Regions from separate parts of the Homo sapiens genome. Here regions 1 and 2 are each linked to region 3. The links are contacts of gene promoters, found by promoter capture Hi-C in blood cells and fetal thymus (Javierre and others, 2016). All regions are on one chromosome and are shown on one strand. The core of a region is centred on a gene start or on the middle of the fragment in contact, and the rest is flanking DNA. Distances in the headings are between cores, read along the strand shown.

The links. The method cuts DNA at HindIII sites, captures the fragments that hold promoters and counts their contacts. A CHiCAGO score of 5 or more calls a contact.
Region 1: a contact is called between a fragment that was not itself captured here and the fragment with the promoter of MKS1 in region 3, in 2 of 17 cell types (M2 macrophages and M1 macrophages). The highest score is 8.3, in M2 macrophages.
Region 2: a contact is called between a fragment that was not itself captured here and the fragment with the promoter of MKS1 in region 3, in 1 of 17 cell types (M2 macrophages). The highest score is 7.2, in M2 macrophages.

What each region holds. Positions count from the first base shown.
Region 1 is chr17:58,436,284-58,439,137 of GRCh38, reverse strand. All of the region lies in intron 5 of HSF5 (heat shock transcription factor 5), which reads left to right. Among named protein-coding and RNA genes, the nearest start is that of RNF43, 20 kb to the right of the region's middle. The HindIII fragment of the contact is 3,086 bases long and covers 1-2,854 here.
Region 2 is chr17:58,456,419-58,459,306 of GRCh38, reverse strand. It overlaps HSF5 (heat shock transcription factor 5), which reads left to right. Exons shown (of 6, transcript NM_001080439.3): 5 at 362-539. Among named protein-coding and RNA genes, the nearest start is that of HSF5, 31 kb to the left of the region's middle. The HindIII fragment of the contact is 2,581 bases long and covers 255-2,835 here.
Region 3 is chr17:58,217,858-58,220,690 of GRCh38, reverse strand. It overlaps MKS1 (MKS transition zone complex subunit 1), which reads left to right and starts at 1,436. Exons shown (of 18, transcript NM_017777.4): 1 at 1,436-1,540; 2 at 1,962-2,071. The coding sequence starts at 1,461. It overlaps LOC105371841 (a long non-coding RNA gene), which reads right to left and starts at 1,377. Exons shown (of 2, transcript XR_934884.4): 1 at 632-1,377. RefSeq lists an enhancer at 1,329-1,608. The HindIII fragment of the contact is 11,285 bases long and covers 1-2,833 here.

The DNA.
Region 1 (2,854 bases), core at 205-2,704, 220 kb before region 3:
ATTTTTTTTTTGAGGCAGGGTCTCACTCTGTTGCCTAGTCTGGCACGATCATAGCTCACTGCAGCCTTGATCTCTGGGCTAAAGTGATCCTCCCACCTCAACCAACCTACCCCCAACCCCCCAAAGAAGTAGCTGGGACTACAGGCACATGCCACCACACCTAGCTGATTTTTTTTTACTTTTCAAAGAGATGGAGTCTCACTGTGTTGCCCAGGCTGATCTCCAACTCCTGGTCTCAAGCAATCCTCCCAACTTAGCCTCCCAAAGTGCTGGGATTACAGGTGTCAGCCACCATGCCTGGCCTTAAGGCACTTCTTAGTGCAACTTCAGGTTGGGGTATTGAAGCAGTTGGATTCATGACCCAGTTACTGAACTCTAGTCAATAAGTTGTCAACCACAGGCAGTCAAATATTCCCTTCCATCTCTGCTTGCACACTAGGTACCTCTAGCCTGAGTTTATCTCTTCTTTTAGGGCTTTGCTGAATGTGTCAAGAAATAGTCAACACCTTGTGATTTTTGTCAATCTTTTCCCCCATGGTTGTATGTTCACTTGGCATGTGTGGTCTGACTTCCATGGTGTCACAGGTAATGATTTTACCAAATATGTTGGCATGGATAACAAAGATCACCAACATTCTAGCTTGCTGTGTCCTAACCATGTGCTGCCTGACTGCAAAGCCAGTAGCACATATAATCATGTATCCCTTAATGACAGGAATGTATTCTGAGAACTATGTCATTAGTTAATGTTATTGTTTTATAAACATTGTGAATTGTACTTACACAAACCTAGATGATGTTGCCTACTACATACCTAGGCTGTATAGTATAGCCTATTGCTTCTAGGCTACAAACCCTTACAGCATGTTACTGTATTGAATATTGTAAGCAATTGTAATACAGTGGTATTTGTGTATCTAAACATAGCTAAGCATAGAAATGGTACAGTAAAAATAGAGTACAATCTTACAGAATCATCATCATCTATATGGTCTGTCACTGACCAAAATCAACCAATTATTTTTTTTTTTGGCAATTTGATTGGCAAAACTTTAACTGTTGATAATATCCAGCTTTGATAAAGGTATAGAGAAAAGGAACCTTCTCTATGCTGTAATTGGAATGTAAATTCGTATAGCCCTATAAAGGACAATTGGCATTATTTATAGATAACTAAAATGCTTATGAGTTTTGACTCAGGAACTCTACTCCTGGGAATCTCTCCTGTAGAAATGTGTATATTCCCAAAGGTACTCAAAATAAGTTTGCTATAGTGTTATTTATAATAGCAAAAATTTGAGAAAAGCATAAATGCCTGACAGTGGGGAACCAGATACATTATGACATCTACATAATAAAATACTGTGCAACCATTTAAGAAACTGAAGTAGCTTGATGTGTTGTGACCTGGAAAGACAGTAAGTGTTCATAATGTGTTCAGCAAATGGGTAAGTTGCAACACAATATGTCTAGCACAACCCCCTTTCTAGAAAGAAAGAAAAGAAAGTATATGCTGTAAAATTATAGAAAAAAGTCTGGAGATATACGATATAGCTGATAAATATAACACTAGTTATCTCTCAGAAGATAGAATGTATGGGTGCAGGGGTATGCTTAACTTCTCAATTTGTATATGTATATATAATAGGATTACGGGAAATTTTCACCATCTGTATTCTTCTATGTTTTTCAAATTTTAAAAAATCTAAAAATACTAAAAGTAGTTTAAATACTTGAAGTGTTCCTATAGCAGGAATATAAAAGCCTTAAAGTAATAGAAATGAACAATTTCAGAGTGTTTTTAAAAAATATTTATATCCCAGATAGTAAACTGACTTTTGAGGTTTAGATATGATTGACTCAAGATAAACTTACCCTATACCAAGAATGCCTTTCTAAGATTTCTGAGACTTTCTAGGGTTCACAGTAGCTTTTATTTTTGAGTTTCTGCTTAAATGTAATTCCAGACTTGTCCATATCTGACCTCCCAGGGCTGTTCTTATCTGTCTGTTCCATGCTATACCAGATGCAGAACTTGGCCCACTTTCTTTGACCTCTTCCTCCCTTTAAGCATTATGCTAGGCATGTGTATGTGTAGCACACTTTTATGAAGATGTCGGGAGGCAGAAATACCGACAGAAATATTTAGAATACCGCAAAAATGGAATTAAAAGGCCCCCAGTCACTTTACGGCATCTTTCCTTGTCACTAGTCAATATGGTCCTCTGCCATGTTGCTTTCTTTCCTTGTACTAGCACCAGACCTTCGTTTCTCTGCTTTCTGTTGTTGTTGTTGTTATGGTTGGTTTTTTTTTTCTGCTCTTTCCCCAGGTGCTGAATTCCTGTGTTTTACTTAGGCAAAGAAGGTTAGGTATCTCTTCTATTTTTTGATGTTTTTAAGGCGTCATTTTTCCCAACCAGAACAATCTATCGAGACATATTCCTCAACAAAGACAATTACCTCCCTGAGAGGAACTCTGGTGCCTGCTGTTAAAAAAATAATTTCCTCTCTTTCACTACATGTTATGGTTATAAGTGTAACTGATAAAATAATTAGCACAGTAATTATCTTTATTAACTCTTCCTGTTGTTTTTTTTTTCTAAGTAAAGCCTTATCCTTTGGTCAGTGCAGTTAATAGATGAGTCTTAATTGATGTTGGCTTCCTGCTGTGAAACATAAGAGTTGTGAAATCTTGGCATCATTATGACACCTAATCACATTTTCATTTTATTATGGACAAGAGGAAAATGAGTTATGATTAAGCTAGAACCTCTCTGCTAAAAAAAAAAAAAGTTTTTTAATTAAAGTGTAGGCAGAAATACAATTCATGAAGTTGCAAATGATTCTGCTCTGA
Region 2 (2,888 bases), core at 296-2,795, 240 kb before region 3:
ACTTGAGCCCATGAGCTCGAGGTTACAGTGAGCTATGATTGTACCACTGTACTCCCGCCTGGACAACAATGTGAGACCCTGCCTTAAAACAAAAAAAAAAACCTGTACTTTTGTAAGTTAAAAAAAAATCAACAAGCTTCATGGTAGATATTCCTCTGATCATAAGTAAATGTTTTAGCTCCATATACATTTTAATAGTTTGTGTAGGGAGAAAGGTATAGTATCAATAATAAGAATGAAAAGCCTTATAAGCTTGTTTGTTGGATCATGTTCCCATAATAGAACTCCTCTGATAAAATATCTTAACTTTTAGCAGATATTTGGAGGAAATCTCAAATAATGAATGGGTTTAATATTTTAGGTGGATGCCAACATAAAATGCCAGACCAGTTCACGTGAGAATATCTTGCCGTCAGAACAGATGGGATTCCTCATTTCAGAAATGGGGCCTGCTAGCAAGCCTAGTGAAGACACAGGTTTAGCCACTCCAGCCAGATACAGAGAGCACAGAAGCAACTCACAACAAGGAAAGTCCCCTGGTAAGGATTATTGTGCTCTAGAATGCCAGAAGTAGAATCACGCTGTAGAATTAATATATGAATGACATTTTTTCTGGGTCTCCATTTATTATTCATAATTGTATTAGACCTGTCACATTGCTGTTTTTACATAGCTGTAATTTTAACTCTATATTTGTTCTTAATTATTGTTGTGAAGTATGTAATAGTTATTTTCTTAATATTGCATATAATGATTTGGGCTTTGAAAATATAGAACATATTAAGAATAAGCAAAGGAATTTAGATTATTTAACTTGGAGAAGGCAAGGATGAAGGATGATTTAATAAGTATCCTCAGATGCCAGACTTCGAAATTGTAGTTGTACTTACTCTGTTATTAACAGACTCTAGGACAAGAGGGCATGCATTTATATTGTGACAAGAGAAAATCAGATGGAAATTTAGGATATTATCCTGAGCGCATTTTAAAGATACTATAAAGTATGACCCTATACCAATGAATGGTTTGTTATTCTTGTGGTTTGTAAGAACCCAGAATAAGTGATTGTTTTAGGCACATACAGTTGATTCTAATAAGACAAAATCATATTTTTTGAAGAAATAGTAACATCTAATAAAACATGTGTCTCATATCATCCAAAAATCAAGTTACCAAAGTCTGCAGTGGACAATTTTAATATTCTAGAATTATGTTCATGTCAGGGGCATGCAGTGCAGGCAGAATGACAGTGTAGGTTAAAATGACAGACCATCATTTTAACCTACAATAATTTGAAAAATGTTGAGAACTTCTGTGAGAATTTTTCCAAAAAGTAAATTAATAGTGATATGATCATGGTGTAGCTCAGACTCATAGGGTTCTTTCTGCAAAATGTCTTTTAGGCTAAAAACTGTCTATCATTTATTCACTAAATTTAGCTTGCACACTTTTAGTTGATTATATTTTCCAATCCATAATTAAAGACTAAAGATTTCTTACCACTGAAGGTGTTTAACACAATGGCATGAGCCTTGAAGGCAATTTAGATGAGAGAAAGGCAGGAACTAACATTTACCGTATCCATTTTTGTGCCATAGGACAAATCTGTTGGAAGTGGCATTGTCATTTTAAACATCAGGAAATTTAGGCTTAGAGTAAGTAACTTGTTCAAAGTCACATATAAATTTGTTTTATTTTTTCATTTTTTAGAGACAGAGTCTTTCTCTGTTGCCCGGGCTAGAATGCAGTGGCGCATCTTGGCTCACTGCAGCCTCCACCTCATAGATTCCAGCAATTCTCATGGCTCAGCCTCCCGAGTAGCTGGGACTACAGGTGCGTGGCACCACACCCGGCTAATTTTTGTATTTTTAGTAGAGATGGGGTTTCACCATGTTGGCCAGGCTGGTCTTGAACTCCTGGCCTCAAGTGATCCACCCACCTCGGCCTCCTAAAGTGCTGGGATTACAGGCATGAGCCACCATGCCTGGCCCTTTTTTCTTTTCTTTCCTTTTCCTTTTCTTTATTATTATTATTATTTTTTTTTTCTGAGACAGAGTCTTGCTCTGTTGCCCGGGCTGTAGTGCAATGGCGTGATCTTGGCTCACTGCAACTTCCACCTCCCAGGTTTAAGTGATTCTCCTGCCTCAGCCTCCTGAGTAGCTGGGATTACAGGCACACTCCACCACGACTAGCTAATTTTTGTATTTTTAGCAGAGGCAAGGTTTCCGCCATGTTGGCCAGGCTGGTCTTGAACTCCTGACCTCAGGTGATCTGCCTGCCTCGGCCTCCCACAGTGCTGGGATTGCAGGCATGAGCCACTGCACCCAGCTGCCTTTTTTCATTTTTTATAGAGATGGGGTCTCACTATGTTGCCCAGGCTGGTCTTGCACTCCTAGGCTCAAGCAGTCCTCCTGCCTTGACCTCTCAAAGTGCTGGGATTATGAGCATGAGCCACCATGCATGGCCAGTCACATATAAACTAATATTGCTAATATCCTACCCTAAGTTGTCTGCCTGTAGAGCACATATTCTTTCCTTTTAATTTTTTATTGTGTTGAAGAACATGTAACATAAAATTTATCATTTTAACCATTTTTATTTTTAATTTATAATTTAAATATAATTGTACATATTTATGAGGTACAATGTGATTTTTTGACACATGTATATGTAGTGTAATGATCAAATTGAGATAATTACCATATCCATCACTCTAAACATTTATCATTTCTTTGTGGTGATAACACTCTAAACCTTTTCTTCTAGCTGTCTTGAAATATACACTACATTGTTATTTGCTACAATTATGCTACTGTGTAATAGAATACCAAAGCTTATTCTTCCTATCTAACTACAACTTTTGACCAACTTCTCCCAATATCCCCACT
Region 3 (2,833 bases), core at 187-2,686:
CACGAGGTCAGGAGATCGAGACCATCCCGGCTAAAACGGTGAAACCCCGTCTCTACTAAAAATACAAAAAATTAGCCGGGCGTAGTGGCGGGCGCCTGTAGTCCCGGCTACTTGGGAGGCTGAGGCAGGAGAATGGCGTGAACCCGGGAGGCGGAGCTTGCAGTGAGCCGAGATCCCGCCACTGCACTCCAGCCTGGGCGACAGAGCGAGACTCCGTCTCAAAAAAAAAAAAAAAAAAATTATTATTTCCCAGGTTGGAAATGTGTGCGTTTATGGAATAAATTGGTAGGTGAGAGGCTGTGAGGCAAACTGGAAGGTGGTTAGGCTTCAAAAGACAGAAGAACTTGGGCTAGAATCCCAGTACTTTTACCACTTGCAAGCTAGCAAGTCCTTTAAACCCTGGCCTTCACGAACTTCATTTTTAAAGTGAATAAAAGTACCTTTTTGAGAGGCTTCTACAAGGATTTGGGACAATGCAAACAAAAGTGCTCAAGCTGCACTAGATCCTAAATAAATGGTGCTATTTATGGTGAGTCGGTGTTACACAACTAGTGGCTATGGCACCCAGAGCTTCCAATGCCAAATCATCAAACTGGCATGAGATTCCCGAGTTCAGGGGACAATTGCTTACTTTGTTGGAGGAGGACTAGATGTGAACAAGGCTGATAAATGTTGACATTCCCAAAGTGCCGGGACGCCAGACGTGAGGTTACAGCATGTCCTTCCTTTGCTAGTACAACGAAGCATGACTTGTGAATGTCACTTTTTTGGCTTTTCAGGAAGCCAGTGCAGTAACAAAGTGGCTTAATGATCCAAAACTAACATACACAAGGTAAGAATCAGTTCAATAATAACATCGTTTCCTTCCTTACTGTTGACTTCCTTGTTTTTTCTTTCTTTGCTCAGTGAATATCAACACAAAGACTAATAAATCTTCTGACACTTTTTTTGTCTTCCAAGAATATATTTTCTTGTCTGGCTAAGGGCCATCACCTTCCCTGACTCCTTTGGGAATAATGGGTGCATTTCTTACAGTCACATCACCCGATTTTCAGGCCAAAGTTTTCACGCGTTGGGTGGAAGGCAGTGTGGCATGGTGGAAAAGGTAGAGGGCGAAGACTCAGGCCACCTGGTCCCCGTCATCATTTCTGCATCTATCTGTCTATATGAAGTGGGCTGATGGCTGTGCCAGTTTCCTCATTTGCACAGCGCACGAGGTCCCGCTTTCGGTGAGCTTTTATCGCATACATGGTAAGCGGTGATCGGTAGGACCCCGGAGCCCTCTTGGGCGTTCGGCTTGGGCTGCACTTGCACTGTGTGGCCAACTGCGACCGTGGCGCCGTGACGGGAACGGCGGGTTGCGCGCGCAGCACCTCCGTCGCCTCCCGATCCAGCGTCTCCGTTGCCAGGAAAACAGAGCGGCGCGCTTTCCGGCGCAGTCGCGGCGCGTCGCAGCTGTCATGGCGGAGACCGTCTGGAGCACTGACACCGGGGAGGCAGTGTATCGCTCCCGGGACCCCGTGCGCAACTTGCGCCTCCGGTAGTCGCACCGCCCCAGCCCCGAGGCCCCATGCTTTTGTGTCCTTAGATCATTCCAACCTGAGCTCGGTGTTCTGAGGTCCCCACTTTCTGCTTACAATCCCGACCACTTCTCCGGGCTCCCCACTTCTTTCACTATCCGTACCCCCATCCACTCACAGCCTCTAAGAACCCCTTACAGACCTACCCAAGTCCATTCACGTCTTTGTTGCTCCCAGTTTCTCAAAGCCCTGTGCCCCCAGTACACCCTCTCCCCTTCATTCTTCCCCATAGGACGGCGCACCCACCCACCTCCTCTCCGTTGTCTGCACCCAGCACACCTTGGCAACCCTACCTCCTCTGTTTTGTTTCCCCCATCCTTGCTTTGTGTTCATCTCCTGGTTGCGTGTCTGGTAACGAATATTTTGGGCTTTTCTTGACAGAGTCCACCTGCAAAGAATCACATCAAGCAACTTTCTTCATTATCAGCCTGCTGCCGAGCTCGGGAAGGACCTCATAGACTTGGCCACTTTTAGGCCTCAGCCAACTGCCAGTGGGTGTTACGGTGGTGATGTGCCATCTAATACTAATTATGATACTAATCAGAATTGTGGCCAAATGTAGTGAGATAACAAATACTATACTTCTGATATGTTATAGAGTTGCCCGGCAACCTACATTCTATTTGTGGCTTTTTTTTTTTTTTTTTTTTTTTTTTTTTTTTTGAGACGGAGTCTTGCTCTTTCCCCCAGGCTGAAGTGCAGTGTCGCTATCTCCGCTCACTGCAAGCTCCGCCTCCCGGGTTCACGCGATTCTCCTGCCTCAGCCTCCCGAGTAGCTGGGACTACAGGCGCCCGCCACCACGCCCGGCTAATTTTTTGTATTTTCAGTAGAGGCGGGGTTTCACCGTGTTAGCCAGGATTGTCTCGATCTCCTGACCTCGTGATCCGCCCGCCTTGGCCTCCCAAAGTGCTGGGATTACAGGCGTGAGCCACCGCGCCCGTCCTATTTGTGGCATTTTTAAAAGAGAAAACGTGCCCCAAACCCTAAATACACATATAAACACTTTTAAAAACAATTTTTAAACTGGAGACTGCTTGCAAAATCTGCATATGATGTGCATGTATAGATCAACTGTGTTCTTGTGGTTTTCCTTATCTGGGAAACCAAAAGAATGAGGAGGAGAGGACAGAGTGGTTGTTGTCAGGTCACTAGTCTGTTTGCTTTTATTGTTTCTCTTTCTGTTCAGAGCTGTTCCTGGGCAAGAGTGTGGGCTCACAGGTTGTGAAACGTGTCTCTGAAAAAGGCATACCCA